Regions from separate parts of the Homo sapiens genome. Here regions 2, 3 and 4 are each linked to region 1. Evidence: promoter capture Hi-C in human tissues and cell types (Jung and others, 2019). All regions are on one chromosome and are shown on one strand. Each heading gives the region's core, a stretch centred on a gene start or on the middle of the fragment in contact. The rest is flanking DNA. Distances are from core to core; before and after follow the strand shown. Region 1 holds the start of GRIK4 (glutamate ionotropic receptor kainate type subunit 4). Region 2 overlaps GRIK4 (glutamate ionotropic receptor kainate type subunit 4). Region 3 overlaps GRIK4 (glutamate ionotropic receptor kainate type subunit 4). Region 4 has its middle 15 kb from the start of TBCEL.

Region 1 (5,916 bases), core at 3,025-5,524:
TAATCAGGCCCTTGCTTCCTTCAACCTAAGTTCCTCAAATGTGAACCCCAGCTTCAACTTAGGTTGTAAAGACTTTAAGCTTACCAAGGGCACAGTTTCATATTTGCCAGTTAGGATTTCATCTGACTCATCTGGACAAATGACAGGAGCAAATCCGATTTGCCAGAACTGTAGACCTCATTAACCCCTTCTCTCTATTGGTTTATCCATTCAACACATTTACTAAGAATCTCCTATGCCAAGCACTGTGTGGTTAATAGATTTTTTTTTTTTTTTTTTTGAGCTGGAGTTTCATTCTTGTTGCCCAGGCTGGAGTGCAATGGCACGATCTCAGCAACCTCTGCCTCCCCAGTTCAAGTGATTCTCCTGCCTCGGCCTCCTGAGTAGCTGGGACTACAGGTCCCATGCCACCACGCCCGGATAAGTTTGTATTTTTAGTAGAGACAGGGTTTCTCCATGTTGGCCAGGCTGGTCTCAAACTCTGACCTCAGGTGATCCACCCGCCTCGGCCTCCCAAAGTGCTGAGATTACAGGTGTGAGCCACTGTGCCCGGCCAGAGATTTTTTAAAAAGCCTATAGTCTAATTATGAACTTGAGATGAACCTTCAAGGGACCTTTGGAAAAGAAATGGTAGGTAAATTTAAGATCAAATATCTGATTTGCGGATATACCTGAGGCAAATACAAAGAAGGGAGAAGCTAAAATATAAATCCAGGAGAACAAGCTCACAGTCTATTAGTGAGAGCAGACGTGAAACAAGTAAGTGACCATAAACTCTAACAAGCACAAGAGAGATCCCGAGAAGGGAGTAATTACTTCTGTTGGGAAGGGACTAGATAGCCAGGTATGATAAACTTCTAGTAGGAGAGGTTCCCAAACAGAATTCTGAGCGGTTAATAGGAACTTGTGTATCAGTGTGTATGTGGGAGGTAGGGTGGGGACTCTGGGCAGAATTCAGTGTGTTAAAGGCACAGAGGTATGAAATGGGATGAGCAGAGAACTCAGTGCTGCTTGGTACTGACTGAAGGTGAGATGGACAGAAATGGATGATGGGTGAGGTGGGGAAGTAAGCAGGGAACTTGTATGCTGTGCTAAGAAGTTTTGGACTCGAGGCTGGGTGCGGTGGTGCACGCCTGTAATCCCAGCACTTTGGGAGGCCGAGGCGGGCAGATCACGAGGTCAAGAGTTGGAGACCAGCCTGGCCAACATGGTGAAACCCCATCTCTACTAAAAATACAAAGGTTAGCCGGGCGTGGTGGCGGGTGCCTGTAGTCCCAGATACTCAGGAGGCTGAGGCAGGAGAATCGCTTGAACCCGGGAGGCAGAGGTTGCAGTGAGCCGAGATTCCGCCACTGTACTCCACTCCAGCCTGGTGACAGAGGAGTGACTCCGTCTTAAAAAAAAAAAAGTTTTGGACTCAATATGAGGTCATGAAGGGGTTTTCAGCAAGGGTGTAAAGTGGTGAAGCTTGTTTTAGAGACATCACTCTGGCAGCCATTTGTAGACATATTGGAGGGAGCCAATTTAAAGGCAGGGAGATGAGCTAGAGGGCCGCTGCAATAGTTTCTAAGACATGGTGACATGATATGATATGTGCCACTCAGCAAGGTGACAACAAGTCACCTGCTCACCGTGTGCCTCAGCTGGCCCCATTTATGCAGAGGGATCATTATGAATGTGTGATGAACCTTCAAAGGGACCTTCGGAAAAGACATGGCAGGTACATTTAAGATCAAATATTCTTCTTAGTGGATATACCAGAGGCAGATAGATGGAAGAAATTAAAGATAAATCCAAGAGAACAAACTCCTTCCTGTGCGCTCCGACCACCATGGCGCCCAAGCACAATGAATCCTATCCGTCCTGCACAGCATAGCAGCTGGCTGTGAGGGATGTTTCAGATGAGAGGTTCTAGAGGTGGGAGCCCCATTTCCCAACCCTTCTGTTTTTTCATTCAAGGCAGCAGCCTCAGAGTAGATCAGCGGGGCCAGCCTCGTGGCCCTCTGACATTCTCCCCCTGTGGCTTCCAAAAAAGATCTGGACTGACCTTCCCACCCCTGGAGCTGAGCTTGAGAAGTCAGCTTGCCTGGAATTGAATTTTTTCAGTAGTAAAAAAGGTGGAGAGCAAGTAGTAAGTATCCCAAAGAACTCAACATCTTGCAGCAAGGGGAGACAGGAGAGTGGGTGGGGGCAACCAGGCTGAGGCTAACAGCAGACTTCTGTACCGGCAGACTTCGCTGACATTGTTGTCCACCCTGTGACTGGTAGGGACTCCCTGCTTCTAGGGGCAGAGGCCTTAAGAAAGGAAAAGAAAGTCAGAACCATTCTTGCAAGAAGGGGAGAAACCAGGGCCCTCAGGAGGCCACAGCCAAGACTATCTCCAGAGCCATCAGCAATCTCTCTGACCTGCCAAAAGCTCCTCCCCGCTTCCCTGGTTAATAGGATGAGATCACCAGGCAAAAGAATATGATGAAGCATTTCACTTATATAGTATTTTTCTTTCCAAACACTTAATAAGCCTCTCTGGTCTCGCTGATCTTGCATTCTTCCCGTGAAAGGGGCCAGGGATCCATGCTTGGCATTTCAGAGTTTGCGCGGCTTGAGAGATCATCTAGTCTGCTTCCCTCACTTTTAGAGTTATGGGAACTGAAGTCCAGGGAAGTGAAATCGCTTGCTGGGATCACAGGGATGCCTCTCCCTCCTCCCAGCCCCGTACACTTTCTGCTAGGCTTATGCTGCTGTTCCGTCCATTTTGCACAAGAGAGGGGGTTCCAGAGTGGGGGAATAGAGTTGGAATTAGAAATTAGTTTTGTGTCACTGGCTTACAGGTGCTCTTAAACCTTAACAGGTTTAACATCCTCTGTAAAATGGGACTAGTGTCACCTCAACACCTACCTTGCAAAGTTGATTATTGGGAATCACACTTGTGTAAGCGGTATAGTCTTGGCAAACAGTAGGTGCTAAATAATGTCTGGCTGGAGGAATGGAGCCCTGTTCGCATATGGCATTCATCCAGCCAGTGTGTGGAGCTGGGGGAGGGATAGGCACGACTCCTGAAGCAGGAGGCCCAGTACGCGCCCAGGCTAGCCAGCCAGCCCTCCCCGGGGAATGCAACGTCCAGAACAGTCTATAGTCCCGATAGTATGCCTCATGCGTGAGACCTGACCAAGGACGTCTGTGAACAAACCCTTCACAGAGAGCTTAATGAGATTGTGGGAGTGCTGGTGGTTGGGTGTGGGGATACAGGCCATTGAAGGTGAGAGGGCCGGTGTGATCAGTTTGGTGGTCTGCCCAAGACAGAGACTCTGCGGGTTGGATAAGAGGGAGCTAATAGGTTTGAGGGGGTCACGTGTCCCTTGCCCTCCCTCCTATTCCCCCAGGACTCCCTCTTCACCCAGCCTCCTCCTAAGGGCAACTCTGTTGTATTAGGATGAACCACACGGTGTACTGAAATGAACCGCGCGTCAGAAAGCGGGGTTGCCTCCTGGGTCCTGCCACTTGCTCCCCGTGTGTTCTTGGCCTGGTCCCTTCACCTCTCCTAGCCTCAGGATCTTCATGCGTAACATGAGATCCTCCCAAGATGTTGGTATGTATACAACAGTGCTCTGGAATGACTCCATGCAAGCTGTTGCTCTTCAGTCTCCTGAACAAGGTGCTCTTGTCTCGTCCCATGAAACCTCCACCTCTCCATCTTCCGCACCACTGAGGCCGCAGTCTCTTCTAACGGGGCACGCTCGTCCCCCGCGCTGTTTCCCGAATGCCACCAGGGGGCGCCCCTTGCTCGCTGAAGCCGCCGGGCTAATAACTCCTCGGGGCCGGGGCGGGCTGCCCCTTTGCGCAGGGCGGTGGAGTGTGCGGGCTGCGCCGGGTTCCCCACCTGAGGTCCGTACCTCGCAGAGCCCGCTTGGCCGCGCGCCCCTAGCCTCTGCCGGGCGCCGCTCCCCAGCCGGGCGCCTCTCGCTCGGCCCCGGGCCCCCGGGCAGCCGCAAGTTTGCCCCCGGCCGCGCGGACCCGCGCCCGCCCTGCCCGCAGCAGCCCCCGCCGTTCCCGCCGCCCCCGCCGCCCCCGCGCCTGGGCTCCCGGGCGACGCTCCGAGGGGCGCTGGGGGGCGCGTGCAGCTGCCCGCGGGGCTCCGGCCCGGCCCCGAAGGGGCGCCCCCCCGGCCGGCCGTGCGCGGGGCCGCAGCAGTTCCCCAGCTGCCCGCCGGGCGGCGCCCCGCGCCTCGCTGCGCTCCTCCCGCGCTCCCCGCGCCGGGCTCGCTCGCAGCCGGACACAGACTGCCTTCAGCTGCGGGCGGATCGGGCTGGAGCCGCCACGGCTGCTGCGGAAGAGGAAAAACGGCCAACAGCAGCCCCGCGGCCGGCCCGGCAGCGCCCGGCCCCCGGCTCAGCCCCCGGAGTGCGGAGCCGACCAGGTAAGGGCAGCGGCCCCCCGCGGCGCCCCCGGCCCGCTCCCTGCGCTGCCCCCGCGCCCCCGAGTCCCCTCCGCGCTGGCCCTTCCCGCACCCCGACTTCTGACGTCTCCGCCGCTCCTGCCCTCGGGGGCCGCGGCCCCGCACCCCTGCCCCGGCCCCCGCCCCCGCGCCCTCCTCCCCGCTCCCGCCTCCCGCCAGCCCGGTCCCTGGCACTTCGGTCCCTGCGTCTCCAGATTCGCCGCCGAACCCCCCACCGCTCTGCTCCCGTAGTTCCTCCAGTCTTCACCCCGGTCCGTCTCCCTCCCTCCGCATCCCTTCCCCGGGCTCGCGGTCCTCCCGCTCTGGTCCTCCCCCTCCCCGTGCAACTCCCAGCCCTGCCTCTGTCCCCTGCAGGGATGACAGCCCCTTCCCAGCCTGGCGCGTCTCCCCTACACCTCGTCACCCTCCGCTTCTCCCAGCGCCTCTGTTCCCCGGCTGCAGCCCCCCATCCCGGCTCAGCCTGGCATCCCACCAAGCCCCCTCCCCCTTTCCTCACTGCCATCTGCCTCGACTGCCCCCTGCCCCTGCACTGGACTCGGGCCACCACCACACCCCCCCACCCTGCACACCGCCTTGCTTGGGGGAACCAGCGTCCTATCAGAAATGATCCTCTTTCCCGGGGAGAATGGGGCTCCCACCCATCCCACCCTAGTTCATCCGAGTGGGAAGTGAGGGAGAAACTCTAGAGACCTGCAATGGGCGCGTGATGGGGGAGGGGGCTGGGGCGGAGGGGGAGGGGAGCTGATTTAGATTCTCTTCAGTGAGGACTGGCAGAGCTGTGCGCTCCGACCTGGCTGGGGTGGAGGGCGTGCAGGCGACAGCTGGGACAGGGGGTTCAAGGCACTGAGAGCACCTGTGTCTCTTTCCCTGGCTCCCTTGAGCTGAGCAAAGTGAGGGGAGGAGTTGGAGCCTGGGGAGAGTTGGCTGAGGGCCTTGGGGTGGTGGAGGAGGCGGCCGAGGGGGCTGGGCCCCGGGCGCCTCTGGCCCGTCTGCCTGGCAGTGGTGGGGCAATGCGGGCCGAGCCACTCCCGGGCTGGACCTTGGGCTGCGTGGCTCTTGGCATCTGTACTTGATGCTGCCATCTTCCTCTTGGTGCTGTTGTCTGGTGATGCCACGCGGTGCCACCTCCCTGCCTCCCTCCAGTGGCTCTCCTGGGCATGTCTCCCAAGGGTCTGGGTTGTCTGGGAAGAGGAGGGGAGCTCTGAGCACAGCTGGGCCCTTTTGCCAGGCAGTGGGCAGCTGTCAAGACCAGGCCAAGAGGTCTGAGGGCTGGTCAGGAGGACTGAGCCCTGCCAGGAACAAAGAACTACCTTCACTTTCACTCCCTATGGGTCACCTGGTTGGTAGTGACACTTCTAGGAGCACCGGGAAACTGCGGGCGTGGTATCTCCGGGGAGAGAGGCCGCCTGGGTTGGTAGTGGGCATCTGAGAGACAAATCCGGTCCTGCCTGACTCCCTGACTG
Region 2 (5,995 bases), core at 2,130-4,629, 320 kb after region 1:
CATCAGTGCCACTGTTGTGGGGGCCAGTGGTGAGGGCCTGTGAGGGGCACAGATGGCGGCAGCAGAGAGTCTTTACAAGTCTCCATCGAAACCCTGTCAGGGAAGAGAGGAAAGGCCAGCATTGTGGTTTGCACAGCTGGGCTGTTTCTGAAGCATCTTAATAAATAACAGGCCTTCCCAGGGCTTCTTCCCAACCTGCCACAGCCTCCAGCTCCCTAGAAAGCCTTCTCAAAACAGGTGACAGGAAGACGGGTTGGCAGCACCTTCCCAGAGCTGTCTCTATCAGGCCAGTCCCTTGGGCTCCAACTCCACTACCCTCTCCTTCCTATGAAGAAAAAAAAAAAAAAAAGCACAGACACACAACCAGCATCAGCTTCCCTCTCCTAATCCCTGAGACACGTGTCTCTGGACCTTCCCAGGCACTGTGCCCACTGCCTCCAGCTGAGTTTGTCCTCCGAGGCAGCCTGGTCTCATGGTAAGAGGGTTGGATAGAAATCAGAAAACTGAGATCAGAATTCTGGTCCCAGCTGTGTCCCCGTGTCTCTGTTTGCTGAGTAAGTCATGTCACCAATCTGCAATGCGAGGAGGTGGATGGGAGGCTCTCCCTCCTTTTTGGCCTGGGTGGTGAGTAACCTATGCAGGAAAGTCTTCCGGGGTTGTAGTCAAGCCATCCCCGAGTTGAATATCCCATCAGCCAGTACAGAAACCAGCAGCACGGGGCCTTGGACTGGTTACAAAGCCAACCTTTCCCTCGCCATCCCAGTGTGTGAGGCCAGTTGCTCGTCCTTCCTACCTCCGATTCTCCTCTGTGCTGGGGATTATAATACTTTATGGGATTGTCGTGAGGACTTACATGAGATAAGCCATGTAAAATGTTTCGCACATTAACTGGAACACAATAAGCATTTGATAAATGTTGCCCTTATCATTGCTTTTGGGAGCAAACGCCTACGTGATGTCTTTTTCCATGGGAATTGAGACCACACTCTGCCTCCTGCACCCCCACATCACCCCCACCCCCCACATTTCCCTCCCCCACCCCATACACACATACCCTCTGCTGGCTGGCATGCCTTTCCAAAGACAAGGCAGAATTAAGACCCTCATGTCTCAGTGACATCATTCTGGAACCCCTCCTCCCACCAGGGCCCTAGGCATCAAATAGCTGGTGGGTGGGAGAGGAGGGAGTGAGGGAGGGCAGGGGTAGGTCCTTGGTGCACAGTCCCTTTTTTCTGTTTTGTTCTGGGCCCAGATTCTTGCCTGCTGGAGTGCAGTTCAAAGCCTGTTCCCTTATGATCATCATAATACTTTGTCTTAATGCAGCCACAAGGCTCTGAGGAGTTCAAAGCGTTTTACTAGATCTGTTTTCTGGGCCTTGGGATCTTAAGGGAATTGCTCCTCCACCTCCAAAATGAAAACAAAGGCTCTTACAGAGCCCAGTGTAACATTTGTGAGGGTTTAATGTGTCCGAGGCTCGGGCCTGAGCCCTTCACACGTGGCCTCTTGTAATCCTTGCCTTGGACCTGAGTGCTGGCTGCTGTGATAATTCTAACTTCTCAATTGAGGAAACTGAGGCCAAGACAACTGGCCACATGGAGAAGTCCATGAATTAGGGAAGCAGACTCAGGCCTGGTGGTCTCTGAACCCAGGTCTTGGTCTCTGTGCATCCTATCCGGCTTTCGAGGGTGGTGGGGAGGAGGGGGGATTCTCTTATTCCACCCAAGGGAGCTTCCGTCTCTACCTTAAAAGAACGTTCTCGAGGGAGTCAGGGGAGGTGATGGACTCAGAAGTGTTCTTTTATTTTAGATGGGATCATTGAAGCCCAAAGAGGCTGAGAAACCTGCTCAGGTTATGATCTGTCTCCTTAATGCTGTCAGTGGGGCCAGACCCCCCGACCCCACTTCCAGCCCACATCTCCGTGCCTTCCTGCTTCTGCCCAGGTGTCTCTAGAGGCAGCTCTGTGGACCCTCAGGGGCTTCATCCTCTCTCCCCTCCAGGCCTTTTAAACCTAGAGAAGCTGCTCCGGCAATTCCTTATCTCCAAGGACACGCTGTCCGTCCGCATGCTGGATGACACCCGGGACCCCACCCCGCTCCTCAAGGAGATCCGGGACGACAAGACCGCCACCATCATCATCCACGCCAACGCCTCCATGTCCCACACCATCCTCCTGAAGGTGGGAGCCTCCCTCTCTCCCCCACCCCCTGCTGAGCTCCACCCTCCCCCCTCCTTGCCTTGAGGGTCCTCCTGAGCTGAGGCTGACGGAGCCCCGGGCTGGACCTGAACTCTTACAAACCTCTCTCTGTGCTTCTGTTTTCAATGAGCGGTTCCCGAAAAATGAAAGAAGAAAGCAGGGTGAGGGTGATGTCGTTTTCAGCACTGGGGCAGCAGGGCAGTAGGCAACGGAGACACCTAGATGCTGCCAAACTTAGACCCTGCTAAGGGCTCTGTGGAGAGGTCTGCGGGTTCCTAGGAGGGGCTAGGGTGGGGCACCTAAGGGGCTTGGGCAGAGGCTGTCTGCCAAATGGTATAGAAATGGTTCCGTAGTTTAACAACAGGACCATCACACCAGTGTGTACTGCTGAATGCCAGCTCTGTCTTTAGTCCTGACACGGTGCACAACAGTTACACAGCACTTCTGTGTAGTCGATCTCCCAGCGTAGAGCTCTCAGCAATGACATGAGGTAGGTATAATGTCTTCCCTCACAGAAGAGGGAACTGAGACTCTGGGAGATGAACAGATGCGTCCAAGGCCCAGCCCTGAGTGGAGCAGGGCTGAGCCTGCACAACCCTCTCTTATCTGCAAATCAGGTAGTGTCTCCTAAGCTCCTGGAGTTGGAGGGGCAGTGCCAGCCCCTGAGTCAGAACATGCACACTGGAAACCAGAACTCTGTGAGTGAGGCTGATCCAAGAGAGAGAGACGTCGGGAGCCTAGGGGCCCCACACAGGACAAACTGCTGGAAATAGCTGGGTAGCATCGGAGTCACCTGACGTCAGTTCCTGGGCTGGTGGCTGGGCTGGGCATGAACTTCGGAGAGAACGGGCCCCGTTTCCAGGCTCCTTGGCGGCTCCCCCAACCTCTCCAGGCGCACTGGCCTCTTCTAATGCCATTTTAATTGCACGTTTAAGCACAACCTGCCGTCTTCCACTGGGGGAGCGAGGCTCCTCGTTAACCTCTGCCAAGCTGTGAGGAGCCCGCAGACACTCAGATGATTGTCTCCCCTCCTTCCCTCCCTCCCTCCCAGCTGCCCCTCCTCAGCTCGTTTTTGACTCAGAGTTAATAAGAGATTTGAATGAGTTCTCTCAGTACTGAGGGCTGTCCCTTCAGCCCGTTGCTATAGTAATCTTCCAGAGCTCCAAAGCCATGTCTGTCTGTGTGCGTATACCCAACTCACATTATCTCTCTCTCTTTCTTTCTCTCTCTCTCTTTCTCTCTGACACACACACACACACACACACGGAAACACAATATTTTTCTCTTTTCTTCCTTTTCCTCTGTTTTCTCTTATGCCTGGAGCCATGATCAATGAAGTCATTAAGGGTAGAAAAGCTCCACCAAGTTTCACGAGAGGAGAGGGGCCCTCTTTAGGGAAGGTTGGGAGCAGGCAGTGAGAGCTTCAGCTTAGTAGATAGATGTCCCTCCACCACCCTTGTGGAAGGTAGCTCAGAATACACAGGTTCCCCCTGTGGTAGCTGGAGCCTGCCTGAACAGCCCCCAGGTAGAAGCTTCTGGGGGCCAGCCTTGTGCCCTCCATAGCTCCCAGCATCTGATGTTGCACTATTATTTTTTTTATTCGAATAGCATTACTAGTTCATTGTTGAAATTTTGGAACATATAGAACAGAAAGCACATAGAAGAAACTAAAAATTATTCACAATCCTATCACCCAGAGCTATTTAACCACTGTTAAATTTTGATGTCTGTTTTTTTCTGCTTTACAGACACATTTTTCCCCCAAATTATTGTCATACTGCACAAACTTTTCTGTAAGCGCTTTTTGTCCACACTTAATTCTATGCCGTGCATTTTCCCCATGTCATTAAACATTTTTCTAGAAATATTTTAATGGCTGCCTCATTTCCTATCATACAGAGTTCCCATAATTTATTTAACCATCACTTTATTGTTGGAGATACAGGTTGTTTCAAATCTTTTGCTACAATAAATAATGCTGAGGTGCACATCTTTGTACATAAATCTTTATACACATTCATGAATATTTCCCCAGCATACATTTCTAGAAGTGGAATTACTGAGTTAAAGGTACGCATGCTTTTAAGGATTCTGATATGATTTGCCAGATTGCATTTTAGAAAGGCTGTAACAGTTTACACTTTCGCCAGCAGCATATAGGTGTCTTATAGCACCCTTGCCAATACTGGGTATGTTAATTAAAAACACTTTATAGGTGTGTGTGTGTGTGTGTGTGTGTGTGTGTGTGTGTGGCCATGCTTTTGAAGGAAGCTCTGCCTGTAGTGTAGTGATCATTATTAGCAAATGGTTCTGCTCGATGCCTCAGGGCTGTCTTTCCTGAGCTCACCTGTCAGCCCCAACTCCTGTGACATTGGAGCCACACTGATCAATGAGCAGCAAGGCTTCAGGAAAGCCTGTTCCCTTTGCCCATTTGCCTTCCCAATGGCCCAGGCAGGCAGGCGTTCCATCAGGCCTGGCCTCTGTCCTCATGCTTCCCTGGGGCTCCGTACTCTTCCCTCCAGGAGGGCACAACAGGGCCTCTCAGGGCCTCAGCAAGGATGGGAAGCAGAGTGGGCAGGGAGCACACGGGGCCTCTGGGAGACTCAGTGTGCACGTGGGAGTCCAGCCCCTAGAGCTTGGCAACACTCTGCCATCTCTTGATTTCAGGAGGATTTGCAGAGCAATCCCTGATTTTATTGAGCGGCTGTTCCAGCAACGAACTCCATGTTTACCCAGAAATCAGGCCTTAAAAACCAAGGATCTCTTGTCTTTTATCTCTAGGACAGCAGATTTCACAAAGCGGGTTTTAGCTCCCCACTGTGACCCCGCCCGGACCCTCTGCCCCCAGCCTGTCGCTGTAAGCAGCGGGCTCGCTCCGTGGGTCGCATCCGTCTAGGCAGGGGTGAGATGCAGCAGCACTCTTACTTGGACAGTGTGATTGTGTGTGTGCAGTGGGGCGTAGGATGGGTTGGTCATCTTGCCACATCATCCTCTTGAAAGTGAAGGAGGAAATATAGCTTGGCCTGGAGGAAGAAGGAGCCTCACCAAAGAGGCTTTGAGCTCCCTTGTGCCCTGAGACTCCTGCCCCAGTCACTGAGCATTTGCCCTCCAGCTTCCCATTGGAACAACCATGATAGAGTTACCCCCGACCTGCTCCTCAGGGAGCCTGCAAGTGTTCCTATAAGAATCCTATAAGATTACAGGCGCGGTGCCTCACGCCTGTAATCCCAGCACTTTGGGAGGCCAAGGCAGGCAGATCACTTGAGGTCAAGAGTTCAAGACCAGCCTGGCCAATATGGCGAAATCCCATCTCTACTAAAAATACAAAAATTAGCCAGGTGTGGTCGTGGGTGCCTGTAATTTCAGCTACCTGGCAGCCTGAGGCAGGAGAATCACTTGAACCCAGGAGGCGGAGGTTGCAGTGAGCCATGATCGCGCCAATGCACTCCAGCCTGGGTGACAGAGTGAGACTCTGACTCAAAGAAAAAACAAACAAACAAAAAAAGAAGCTCACAAAATTATTTGAGTTCCTTGGGAGATGAACACTATGTAAGAGGAAAAATGTAATCATCCTTGGTCTGGTTTCTCCTCCATCCACCTCAATAGTCATGACAAAACGGGTCTCCCAGTGGCCCAGGGCTGCAGAATACATTATGAAAATCTAGCCGACTGTCAGGAGGGATGAGGGTCCCCAGAGAGAACGGGGCTCATTATTTTCCTGATCTACGTGTCAGTTTCTATAGTACCTGTCACACTCAAAGCCAGGCACACTGACGGGGAAGGTTGGCTAGGGGTATTTAT
Region 3 (6,059 bases), core at 1,688-4,187, 470 kb after region 1:
CCCAGCCCCAGACACCCTTTGGTAGGCTTCTTGCCAGTGTCCTTGATTGATGGCAAGATCTCTCTCTTCCATTTTATTTCAACTATGCTGCATTTTTTCCAGATAAATAATTAAATATCTTCAAGGACTGGGTGTCTACATGTCAAGTAGATGCATGGGTGTCTACTTGAGCATCTACCATACTCAAGTTCTTGTTTGAATGATTTTAGTATTTTTGATAAAATGATTGTGTCTTCCTGATCTTTTACAATATTTTTCATTTGTTATCACTTTCTTACAGGCCTGGGAATGGAGAATATTGGTGGAATCTTTGTGGTTCTTATTTGTGGCTTAATCGTGGCCATTTTTATGGCTATGTTGGAGTTTTTATGGACTCTCAGACACTCAGAAGCAACTGAGGTAAACTTTCAAAGGGGTATGATCGATCGTGTTGGCAGATGGGGTGAAGTTCACAGGCTCATGCACATATAAGGTTATTTCAGACGCTTACCACAGGAAGTGCAGCAAAGAGAATCCCAGTGCCCAGCAGAGGGGATTTGGATCAATGCTTCATTACTTAGTAATTATTATGAACAACAAAGCCTTCTAGAACTATCATTTAAGATATAGTTGAGAAAAATAGGTGAAAGTACCAGGTTACTATGGAAAAGACAACCTCAGTCCTTTCATTCTGAGTATGTTTTTGCCTTGCAGGGAAAGATCCTTAGAGATATCCCGACTCATGCGAACCCAAGAATTTTATCCCCCTTCTCGGGGATTTTGAATAAGTTCAATTCCCCAGCTGTGGCTTAGAGACAGGGTTAACATAAACTTTACCCAGGTTGAACAGTTTGAAAAGAAGGAAGAAGACTATGCCACTCTTCTTCCAACCCACCCCAGGGAAGATATATAAATCCTTACATGTTAATTGCATTATTAGATTTTTTTTAAAAGTTACATTAGCCTCTATCTCAGTCTCCCAACTCTGAATCTTCCTAAAAACCTTTCCTAATTGGCACTGGGAAAATATCTCACAGCAGGACAAACAGTGCCCCTGGAAGTCCGTGGAGTCTGGCCTCACATGGGGCCTTAACACAACACCGCCTGCCAGTCCTGGTCCACTGTGCTCAGCCTCTTTCCTGTCTCCTTGTAGGACTTCCACGCCGTTGCCCATTCCTCAAGCCCCTCTGCTTCTGCATGCGTAGAGCTTCATTTTACTTCCCATCTCCCAAGAAATCAGGAGTGGCTAGCCCTGAATTAAAACCCCCACTAAACATCTCCCCACAGCTCAGCCACCCTGCAGCTGCAGCAGATACCCCAGTCCTCCTGCTGTCCCTTCCTTGATCCTGTCTTTCCTCAGCTGCTCCAGGATTATCCTCTTTTGCCCCTGTATTTTTTTCTGCCTGCTCTTTCTCCAGTCCACCATTGTGAACGTGTCTGCCATATTTCAAAATAATAGGAAGATTACTGTTGCTCTTGCTCTATCCCTCTCCTCTTCCAAACCAAGGGGATCCAGCTGAGAGAATCTCAGTCTCCATCACCTCACTCCCGATTTGGTCCGAAACCCAGGGCAGCCTGGCTCCTCCCTACCCCTGCACCGAAAGGCCGATGCTTAAAGGTCTGACCCCTCCCAGTGGACCAAACCAAAGAGAATCTACTGGGCCTTATTGGACTTTGGTGTGTCCCTTGATGATGGGGATACTTTCTTTCAGAATCCCTCTTCCCTTGCCTTGCGTGGCACCCAGCTCTCTTGGTTCCCCTCCTGTTGCTGTCTCCAGCTTTACTGGCTTTTTCCTTTTGCCCACCCCTTAAAAGGTGGTGGTCTTATTTATTCCCTAAGACCTAGTTCAGGTGTTCCCTTCCTTGTGAGTCCTTCCTCATTTCTCCTGCTGTCTCCCAGCAATTGGTCACCCTCCTTCTTCCTGACACCAGTGTAACCTATGCATGAACCACTTACACACCACGCTGCAGTTATTTTGGTATCAGCCCCCTACTAGAGATTGAGCTGCCTGAAGTAAAGACTGTGTCTTTTATCCCTGTGCTTGACATGCAGTAGACAGTCAATAAATCTACATTGTTATAGTATTGTCACATGTAATAGATTAGGCAGGTGGTACTGTTTTTATTGTAGTTATCACTAGAAGCACAGAGAGGTTAAGTGACTTGCCAAGAGTCTCTGCTATTTAGTTAACAATTGGGGGGTGTGATGGGGGCCTATAATCCAAGTCGGGAAAACTAATGTAGGCCTTATTCCATTAAGTGACATCACCTTTCTGTAGCTGCCTCACATTTTGTTATTCTCCCCAAAGCTCACCCATGGTCTGGAAGTATATTGAAAAATTCAGCAAGTAGTTAGAGCAGTCCCAATAGCTAAAATAAAGAGTCAGTGCTATGTTAGCGATTTGGCTGTGGTAGAACAACTATGCCATTGGTAGAATTGGACGAAAGAACATTAAAGAACTGAGGACTTCTGCTCCCATATGGTCTAGGAAAGTGTCCTTTCAACTCAGAGTAGAGCACTCAACAGAGCATGTACAGGCTTGGAGTTGATAGGTTTAGGTCCAAATTCAGAGTCAGCTATTAGTCAATTTTTGGCAACATACATAACTTCTCTGAGCCTCCATTTCCACATTTGTGAAATGGATATAATAATAATAGTAATAGTAGTAATACAGGCCCATCGGCCAGGCACAGTGGCTCACGCCTGTAATCCTAGCACTTTGGGAGGCCGAGGCAGGTGAATCATGAGGTCGGCAGTTCAAGACCAGCCTGGCCAACATAGTGAAACCCCGTCTCTACCAAGAAATACAAAATTTAGCCGGGTGTGATGGCACGTGCCTGTAATCCCAGCTTACTGGAGAGGCTGAGGCAGAAGAATCGCTTGAACCCAGGAGGTGGAGGTTGCAGTGAGCTGAGATTGTGCCACTGCACTCCAGCCTGGGCGACAGAGGAAGACTCTTGTCTAAAAAAAACCAAAAACAAACAAACAAACAAAAATGCAGGCCCATCTATATTCTTTTTTTTTTTTTTTTTTTTGAGATAGAGTCTCAGTCTGTCGCCCAAGCTGGAATGGAGTGCAGTGGCAGGTATCTTGGCTCACTGCAACCTCCGCCTCCCAGGTTTACGTGATTTTCCCCACTCAGCCTCCCGAGTAGCTGAGATTACAGGCACACGCCACCACGCCCAGCTAAATTTTGTGGTTTTAGTAGAGACAGGGTTTCACCATGTTGGCCAGGCTGGTCCCGAACTCCTGACCTCAAGTGATCTGCCTACCTCGGCCCTCCAAAGTGCTGGGATTACAGGTGTGAGCCACTGTGCCCAGCCCTATCCTGTATTCTTCATCCACAGTTCTGACACCTAAAAAGCTTGGAGAGTTCCAAGTTCCTTGTAAGTTTGATGCAAATGCACTCAGCGGCGGCGTGGCTTGGCTGATGTTTGTGGCCTTTATCTCACACGGTGTGAGATGTTGCTACAGAAATATGAGCGGGTTTGAATTCAAGTCTGCCCCAGACCCACCGGGTGTGATACATACTCTACTGTTTGTGCTTTGTATTACCCTCCTCTTGTTTTGGTTATCATGAGGATACATCCACCTCCTGCTATAACCAGTTGGCTAAAAGAAATAAGAATCCTTAGCCTAAGGAACAGAATGTTCATAGAGACATGGTGGCCTTTTCAAATACTTGAGAGACTGACATGTGGTGGAGGAATTATTTATTTAGTAGGCTTCAAGGTCCAAACTTAGCTGGGATCAATGAATGAAAATTTCAGGGACAGAAATTGTTAGCTCGGTAAAAGGAAGCAGCATTTAATGGAAATGTGCAAAAAAAAAAAAAAAGTGAGATCATTGTCTTTGAAGGTGTTCAAACAAAGATTGGAGACCAGCTGGTGGGGCTCTTGAATATTATGGTATGGAGGGTGTTTGAACATTAAATGGGAGTGGAGTGAGGAGATGGACTGAAAGGCTTTTATCATCTTCATACTTAAGATGACACGATTCTGTGACCGCTGCCCCCTTCATCCCTCATCCCAGCGGACTCGCAGGGGGCCCACGGGGGCTGGTTGAGAGGCTGGGCCCTGACCTCGCTGTCTCCTCCAGGTGTCCGTCTGCCAGGAGATGGTGACCGAGCTGCGCAGCATTATCCTGTGTCAGGACAGTATCCACCCCCGCCGGCGGCGCGCCGCAGTCCCGCCGCCCCGGCCCCCCATCCCCGAGGAGCGCCGACCGCGGGGCACGGCGACGCTCAGCAACGGGAAGCTGTGCGGGGCAGGGGAGCCCGACCAGCTCGCGCAGAGACTGGCGCAGGAGGCCGCCCTGGTGGCCCGCGGCTGCACGCACATCCGCGTCTGCCCCGAGTGCCGCCGCTTCCAGGGCCTGCGGGCACGGCCGTCGCCCGCCCGCAGCGAGGAGAGCCTGGAGTGGGAGAAAACCACCAACAGCAGCGAGCCCGAGTAGTCCCGGAGGCCACAGGACGCGCAGAGGCCGGGCGGGGCGGGAGGGGAGGGGCGGGGCGGGCGCTGCTGTCAGCCGCCAGCCGGAACTTGTACAGCGTCGACACCTCTCCAGATTTCGGATCCAGTCACTTTTCAAAAAGATCAAGGAGCCTGACGCCCCAGCCAGAGACCGCGCCCGGTCAGGGAGCAGGGTCCACCCGGAAACGTTGCACCCAAAGGGCAAAGGACGGCCCTCCCTCCTGGGCACAAGGACCCATCTTCTCCCAGTGGGTCTTTCCCTCTCGCCAAAATAACAAGAGTATAGGGTGGGGGGTCCCTACCCAGACCAGTCCAATGAATTGGTGGAATCATCAGTTGAATTTCCCCCTAGTCAGGGGCCAATGTACCCTCCGTCTAGTTCTTACAGAAAAAAAAAAAATTAAACAGGGAAGTTTTTCTTTTCTGGATTTGTATATTTTTGTTAATGTTCTTTTCCCTTTTCTTTCCTCCTCTCCTTTTCTTCTTTGTCATCTTCTCAGTCCTGTTAATTTGTTTTGTGTTTTTTGGAGGGGGAGGCTGGGTTAGGGAATGGAAGCCTAAATAATCCCTATTTCTTCTTTTTCCTGAATTTTGGAATATTGCGTTACCAGTGCATCCGATTTCAGGTGCTTAACTCTCTGTATGGTGACTGAGGGGCCTGCAGGAGCACAGGAGAAGGAGTCTTGGGAAGAATCAGATGGAGAGTCTCAAAAGTCCATTGCAGTAAACTTTGAGATGCCAAAAAGCAATTAACTCATCCTATACTCAGACCTTGAAACGCCTGGAATGTCAAGGGTTAATCTGTCTTTTCTTTCCCTTTCTCTTTCTGACTGTCACTATTACTGGGTTTGATTTGATCTTTTTGTGAATGTAGTCTCTGAAGACAGACAGGGGAGGAGAACAGAATGCACAAAGTATCCTAGGACTTTGTTTAAGGAGCGGAAAGAGCAGATAGAATTTTCCCATACCATGGCCTTGGCTTCCGGTGGAACGTGCCGTTCACAGAGGCGGAAGGACTGGGCCACCCCGTTGGTATGGTGCATACTTTGTCAACTGCATCTCTTTTCAACCAAACTCAAATGAGTGGCTGCCTATGAAGCCAGACCCCCAAGACTATCATGGATTGGGTGGTTTCTTGCTACTTAGACGTGAGACCTGGGTGCAAGTGTATGTGTGTGTATGTGTGCGCGCGTGTGCGTGTGTGTATTTATTCAACAGAAAGACCTTAAGTATTCAAGAATTTGCTAGGTTCCTGGGAGAGAGGTGGAGTCTCCTAGTCAATACACGGGCCTGGGAACCAGGAACTCTTGAGTCGTAACCTCAGCTTGAGCAGTAGCCCTCCCACCTTGTATGACTTTAGGTAAAGCATTTAACTTCTCTTCCATCTACCAAATAGGAGTTACTGATGCTGTCCAGGTTACCAGGTGACTGCTAGTGACTGCTCTCCATGTGAGAAGTTTGCAGAGTCCAGAGCACACATCTGATGGGAGGGGCGAGGCTTTCTACAGCTGCTTGACCTTTGCTTGGCTTCACTAATTGGGAGTTTCACGCAGAGTTCTCATTGGCTGATGGAAAACAAATTCTATGCAATTTCTGATTGTAAACTT
Region 4 (6,050 bases), core at 1,310-3,809, 500 kb after region 1:
GAGATTACAAACTCTTGGGTGAAGAGAGTTGGAGAAAATTCCCAAGGTATGGCCCGGAGGGGTTTGATCCCTAACCTGTTGATATGGGTTGGCTGTGTCCCCGCCCAAATCTCATCTTGAGTTGTAGTTCCCATAATCCCCATGTGTCATGAGAGGGATCTGTTGGGAAGTAATTGAATCATGGGGACGGTTACCCCCATGCTTCTGTTCTTATGATAGTGAGTTCTCATGAGATCTGATGGTTTTATAAGGGGCTTTTCCCCTTTTGCTCAGCACTTCTCCTTCCTGCCATCATGTGAAGAAGGACATGTTTGCTTCCCCTTCCACCATAATTGTAAGTTTCCTGAGGCATCCCCAGCCATGCTGAACTGTAAGTCAATTAAACCTCTTTCCTTTATAAACTACCCAGTCTTGGGTATGTTTTTATTAGCAGCATGAGGACAGACTAATACACCTGTATAAGCTTTCCTCCCTTGCACACCACACTATGGTGACTCAAAAGGATCTGAGCACCTTGACTCTTATCTCCCTCCCAGGTAAATTCTCTACTCATTCCGGAAGCTGGGAAAATCTTTCCCCACTTATTTTTAGTGTGCTTTAATTTCATTATCTTCTTACCCTGCTGGCAACAAGAATACCAACTTCTCATATAATAAGGCTCCCAGCAACCTGTTCCAGAGTTTCTCAAGGGGACAAACTATTAACCTTTTTCCTATTTTTCATTAAAGACATATTTATAGAGTGCCTATCTGAGCTAGGTATCTATAGAGATAGAGATAAGTATATTTTGGAGGTAGACAGCATTTGGTAGAATCAAAAATGATTCCATCTTACTGGATTCTTTAGTAACTGGTGTGGAAAGTGATACTGTTTACTAAAATAGGGAAGATTAGATTGGGAAAGGAGGAAGGGAGGGGACTGAGATTTCTCGCTGGGGCATGTTAAATTTGAGATGCATATGGGCTATCTAAGTGGAAATATTTAATAGGCAGTTGGATATGCAAGTCTGGATATGCAAGTCTGGTGGCCCAGAGATGTCTGGGCTCCTTATTTAGAATTTATCAACATGAAGATGTTATTTAAATTAGGGCAATAAATGACATGACCTAAGGAGAAACTGGAGCAAGAAAAGAGAGAAGAAGCCTTAGAACTGAACCCTAAGCAACTCTAACATTTGGAAGTAGGATACAGGAGGAAAACTAAAAAGGAGCAGTCAGTGTGAAAGAGGAAAACCAGAAGCAAGTGATGTATAAGGGCCAAAAAGAAGGGAGGGGCTAAGTGAATCAAATGCTACTATGAATTTAAAGTGAACACAGCTAACTAACCATTGGCAAGCCTCGCAAGCATGGTTTCAGTGGAGAGTGGTAGAAAGAGAATCCAGATTGGAGTAAACTGAAGAGTGAATGGTGAGAGAGGAAGCAGAGTTAACATGTGCAGTGACTATTTTAAAGGAATTTTGCTGAGAGGGGAGCATAAAAATAGAGCAGTAGAGAAGAGGGTACAGCATGTGAAGTCAATAAGGGAAATACTAGAGCATGCTGACACTGCGATGGCAATGATCTACTAGAGACAAGAGATGGTAACGCATGAAAAGAAGGGGGAAGTCGAACGGTGGAAAGAAAAACTCCAAACACAAATGGTGGAACTGGCCTTTGATAGGTGAAGGGACAGGCCCTTCATTTTAACAGAAGGAGAAAGGGGCTGGGTGCAGGTCGGCAAGGAGGAAGAAGATAAGTACATCACACTGATGGCATTTATTTTTCCTAATGTGCTCTGAAGTGAGCTCAGCAGGAAGATGAGGGACACGGGAAAGTGAGGAGACACAAAGTCATCTTAAGGAGTGAAGGAAATCAGTAAGATGAGCAAGCAGTACCAAGTACCCGTTTACAGTTGGAGATGAGGTTAAAGAGCAGCCAGTCAGCTCAGGTGTGTGATTCTCCCTGACAGTGTTCAGCAACTCTGGTACTGGCACAGTTAGGTTTACCTCAGGTCTTGCCCTGCAAGATGGACAGAGAACAACAAGAGGGGACTAGAATTGGGGATATTTGCAAGGGAGTGTATGGACAGGGCCCCAGGTTCTGTAAATTCTTGAGTCTTGTCCTGCCATAGCCATATAACCAATTCTTCACTTCCTTTTCCCCACTATAATATTTGCTGTACATATATATCAAATATATACACATACACATACATATGTACACACACATGTAAGAGACAAGGACGTTCTTTCTTTTGTGAGGCCTTTGCCTTAAACCTTCTCCTTGACAAATTCTGGGTCTAATGGGGTCACATATAAAAAAAGATACTTATAAAAGCTATAATAGAAGAATGAATAAAGGATTTGGGAACATAATGGAAGGAGCAATTCAATTTTGTCTGGTAGGTGGGGCTGTCTTCACAGATAAATGGACGTATCGTGTCTTCTCAGATTTAAAGACAAGAGCTTTCATTTAGGTCTTGATGTTCAATAGAAACTCACTTAAGAAGATAGAAAGAATTTAATAGCTAACATTTATTTAATGTTTAACTATGTGCCAAGCACTAAGAACTTTACATACTTTAGCCATTTAATCTATGAATAAGTTCTATTTTTATCCCTATTTTTCTGGCAAGGATTAGAGATGTTGATTACTTTTCTATGAAGTGGCCCATATGGGACTGAAACCCAGGTCTTCCTGATGTTGAAAGCCTAGAAGAGGGAACAGCACCAGCAAAGGCCCAAGGAATGTGAAAATGCATGAGATGTTCATGTAAGGGAAAACCTGGGGTGATGGGAGACAACAAATAGAAACTCAGGTAAGAAAATGCTAGATGGTAATTCAAACCTGTATGAAGATATAAAGATCTCCAGTGAAGGTAAATACATGGGAAAATATAAAAGCCAGTATTACTGCAATCTTGTGTTGCAACTTCACTTTTTATTTTCTACAGGATTTAAAAGACAAATGCATAAAAATAATTATAAATCTATATTAATGGGTATAGGGATGTAATTTGTTATATTAGTAACAATAAGGGCAGAGCTGTAAAGGAGCAAAGGGTTTGTATGTGATTGAAGTTAGGTTGGTATCAATTTAAAACAGATTTATATAACTTTAGGATGTTATAGGTAATCCCAGTTATAACCACAGAGAAAATATCTATAGATTATAGACATCTATAGATTATAGACAAAAGGACGTGAAAAGGGAATCAAAATATGTCACTACCAAAAAGCAACTAAATAGAAGAGAAGGTGGTAATGGAGGTAATGAAAAACAAAAAGTTTAAGACATATGGAAAACAAATAACAAATGGCAAAAGTTAGTCCTTTTCTATCAGGAATTAACCTCCCAATTAAAAAAGTATAGATTAGTGGAAGGGTTTTTTTTAAAAAAACAGAATCCAATGATACTCTCTACAAGACACCCCATCATAAGTTGAGAAACATCTGTATAAAAGAGTATTAGGAAGAGTTGTATACCAACAAAGTGGATAAGTGAGATGAAATGGACACTGTTATAGAAACATACAATCTACCAAGACTAAATCATGAAGAAATTACAATTTTGAATAGACCTATAATTAGAAAAGAGATTGAATTAATAATCAAAAACTTCCCAACAAACAAAACCCCAGACCAGATGGAATCATTTAATTCTACCAAACATTTAAAGAACTACACCAATCCTTCTCAAACTCTTCTAAAAAATTGAAGAGGAAGGAATACTGCCTAACTCATTCTATGAGACCAGTTTATGTTAATACCAAAATTAGACAACGATACTACAAGAAAACACAAACCAATATTCCTTAGAAATATTGATGCAAAAACCCTCAACAAAATGTTAGCAAACCTAATTTAAAGTATATCACAACGATTATACACCAAGATCAAGGTGAATTTTTCCCCAGAAGGCAAAGATGGGTTAGAATATGAAAAATCAATGTAATTCTACCACATTAACAAAATAAAGGAAAAAAGACACACCATTGTCTAAACTGATGCAGAAAAATAATCTGACAAAATTCAACACCCTTCCATGATAAAACACTTAAAAAGAAAAACAGGAATAGAAGGAAACTACCTCAACATAATAAAGGCCATATGTGAAAAATCCACTGCTAATATCATATTCAATGGTGAAAGACTGAAAGCTTTTCTTCCAAGATTAACAACAAGACAAGGGGCCGGGCGCGGTGGCTCATGCCTGTAATCCCAGCACTTTGGGAAGCCAAGTCAGGAGTTTGACACCAGGCTGACTAACATGGCAAAACCCTGTATCTACTAAAAATACAAAAATTTTTGTATTTTTACAAAATTTTTTTTTGTAAAATGGGCATGGTGGTGCATACCTGTAATCCCAGCTACTCAGGAGGCTGAGGCAGGAGAATCACTTGAATTTGGGAGGCGGAGGTTGCAGTGAGCCAAGACCGAGCCATTGCATTCCAGCATTCCAGCCTGGGCAAAAAGAGCAAAACTCCATTAAAAAAAAAAAAAAAAAAATCAAGACAAGGATGCTCACTTTTGCCACTTTTATTTAACACAGAGTTGGAAGTACTAACCAGAGCTATTAGGTTAAAAAAGGAAGAAAGAAAAGGGCATCCAAATTATAAAGGAAGAAGTAAAAATTATCTGTTTCCAGATGACATGATCCCATATGTAGAGAACCCTAAAGAATTCCTCCCAAAACTTTTAGAACTAAAAACAAACTCAGCAAAATTTCAGGACACAAAATCAAGATGCAAAAATCAGTTGCATTTCTATATACTAACAATGAACAATCAGAAAGTGAAATCAAGAAAATAATTTCCTTTATGATAATATCAAAAAGAGGCTGGGAGCAGTGGCTCACGCCTGTAATCCCAGCACTTTGGGAGGCCAAGGTGGTTGGATCACCTGAAGTCAGGGGTTCAAGACCAGCCTGGCCAACATGGTGAAACCCCATCTCTACTAAAAATACAAAAATTAGCTGGGCATGATGACAGTCGCCTGTAATCCTAGCTACTTGGGAGACTGAGGCAGGAGAATTGCTTGAACCCGAGAGGCAGAGGTTGCAGTGAGCCGAGATTGTGGCATTGCACTCTAGCCTAGGCAACTGAGCAAAACTCCATCTCAAAATAATAATAATAATAATAATAATAATAATATCAGAAAGAATAAAATACTTAGGAATAAACTTAACTGGGAGGCAAAATATTTTTACACTGAAAAACACAAAATGTTACTGAGAGAGATGAAAGAAGACACAAATAAATGAAAAGCTATTCTGTGTTCATGGATTGGAACACTTAACATTGTTAAGATGTCTATACTGTGAAAAGTGATCTACAGATTGAATAAAATTCCGATGACTTTTTTTGTAGAAATAGAAAAATCCATCCTAAAATTAATATGGAATCTCAAGGGATCCTTAATAGCCAAAACAATCTTGAAAAAGAAGAACAAGGCTAGAGGTCTCACACTTTCTAATTTGAAAACTTGTTACAAAGCTACAGTAACCAAAACAACATGGTAGTGGCATAAAGACAGACAAAGACCAATAGAATAGAATAGAGAGCTTGGAAAAAAAACCCTTGCATATATGGTCAATTAATTTTCAACAAGGGTGCCAAGACCATTCAATGGGGAGAGGGTAGTCTTCAACAAATGGTGCTGGAAAAACTGGATATCCACATGTAAAATAATGAAGTTGAACCCTTACTTTATACCCTATACAAAAACTAATTCAAAATGAATCAAACCTAAACATAAGAGGTAAAACCATAAGATTATTAGAAGAAAACATAGAAGAAAAGCTTCATGACATTGAATTTGACAGTGATTTTTCAGATCTGACACCAAAAGCATAGACAATAACAACAAAATAGGTAAAGTGAACAACATCAAAATTAAAAACTTTTATGCATTAAGGAACACTATCAAGGGAGTGAAAACACAACAGAATGGAAAAAATATTTGCAAATCATATGCTTAGAAGGCATTGATATCCAGGATATAAAAAGAACTCCTACAATTCAGCAATTACAACAAAAACAAACAACTCAATCACAAAATGGGAAAAGGACTT

The links. Contacts are between HindIII fragments. The study calls those that stand out against the background at their distance.
Region 2: a contact is called between a fragment that was not itself captured here and the fragment with the promoter of GRIK4 in region 1, in 1 of the 25 tissues and cell types used here (lymphoblastoid cells).
Region 3: a fragment that was not itself captured here is called in contact with the fragment with the promoter of GRIK4 in region 1 in 2 of the 25 tissues and cell types used here (dorsolateral prefrontal cortex and lymphoblastoid cells).
Region 4: a contact is called between a fragment that was not itself captured here and the fragment with the promoter of GRIK4 in region 1, in 3 of the 25 tissues and cell types used here (H1 embryonic stem cells, dorsolateral prefrontal cortex and liver).

Annotation. Positions count from the first base shown.
Region 1 is chr11:120,507,474-120,513,389 of GRCh38, forward strand. It overlaps GRIK4 (glutamate ionotropic receptor kainate type subunit 4), which reads left to right and starts at 4,275. Exons shown (of 21, transcript NM_014619.5): 1 at 4,275-4,414. RefSeq lists silencers at 3,886-3,965, 4,146-4,345. The HindIII fragment of the contact is 7,551 bases long and covers 774-5,916 here.
Region 2 is chr11:120,829,855-120,835,849 of GRCh38, forward strand. GRIK4 (glutamate ionotropic receptor kainate type subunit 4) reads left to right here. Exons shown (of 21, transcript NM_014619.5): 7 at 1,998-2,176. Among named protein-coding and RNA genes, the nearest start is that of TBCEL, 190 kb to the right of the region's middle. RefSeq lists an enhancer at 4,365-4,865. The HindIII fragment of the contact is 5,752 bases long and covers 504-5,995 here.
Region 3 is chr11:120,981,826-120,987,884 of GRCh38, forward strand. It overlaps GRIK4 (glutamate ionotropic receptor kainate type subunit 4), which reads left to right. Exons shown (of 21, transcript NM_014619.5): 20 at 281-399; 21 at 4,079-6,059. The coding sequence ends at 4,435. Among named protein-coding and RNA genes, the nearest start is that of TBCEL, 39 kb to the right of the region's middle. RefSeq lists a silencer at 4,199-4,278. The HindIII fragment of the contact is 5,250 bases long and covers 313-5,562 here.
Region 4 is chr11:121,006,122-121,012,171 of GRCh38, forward strand. No RefSeq gene overlaps it. Among named protein-coding and RNA genes, the nearest start is that of TBCEL, 15 kb to the right of the region's middle. The HindIII fragment of the contact is 4,795 bases long and covers 163-4,957 here.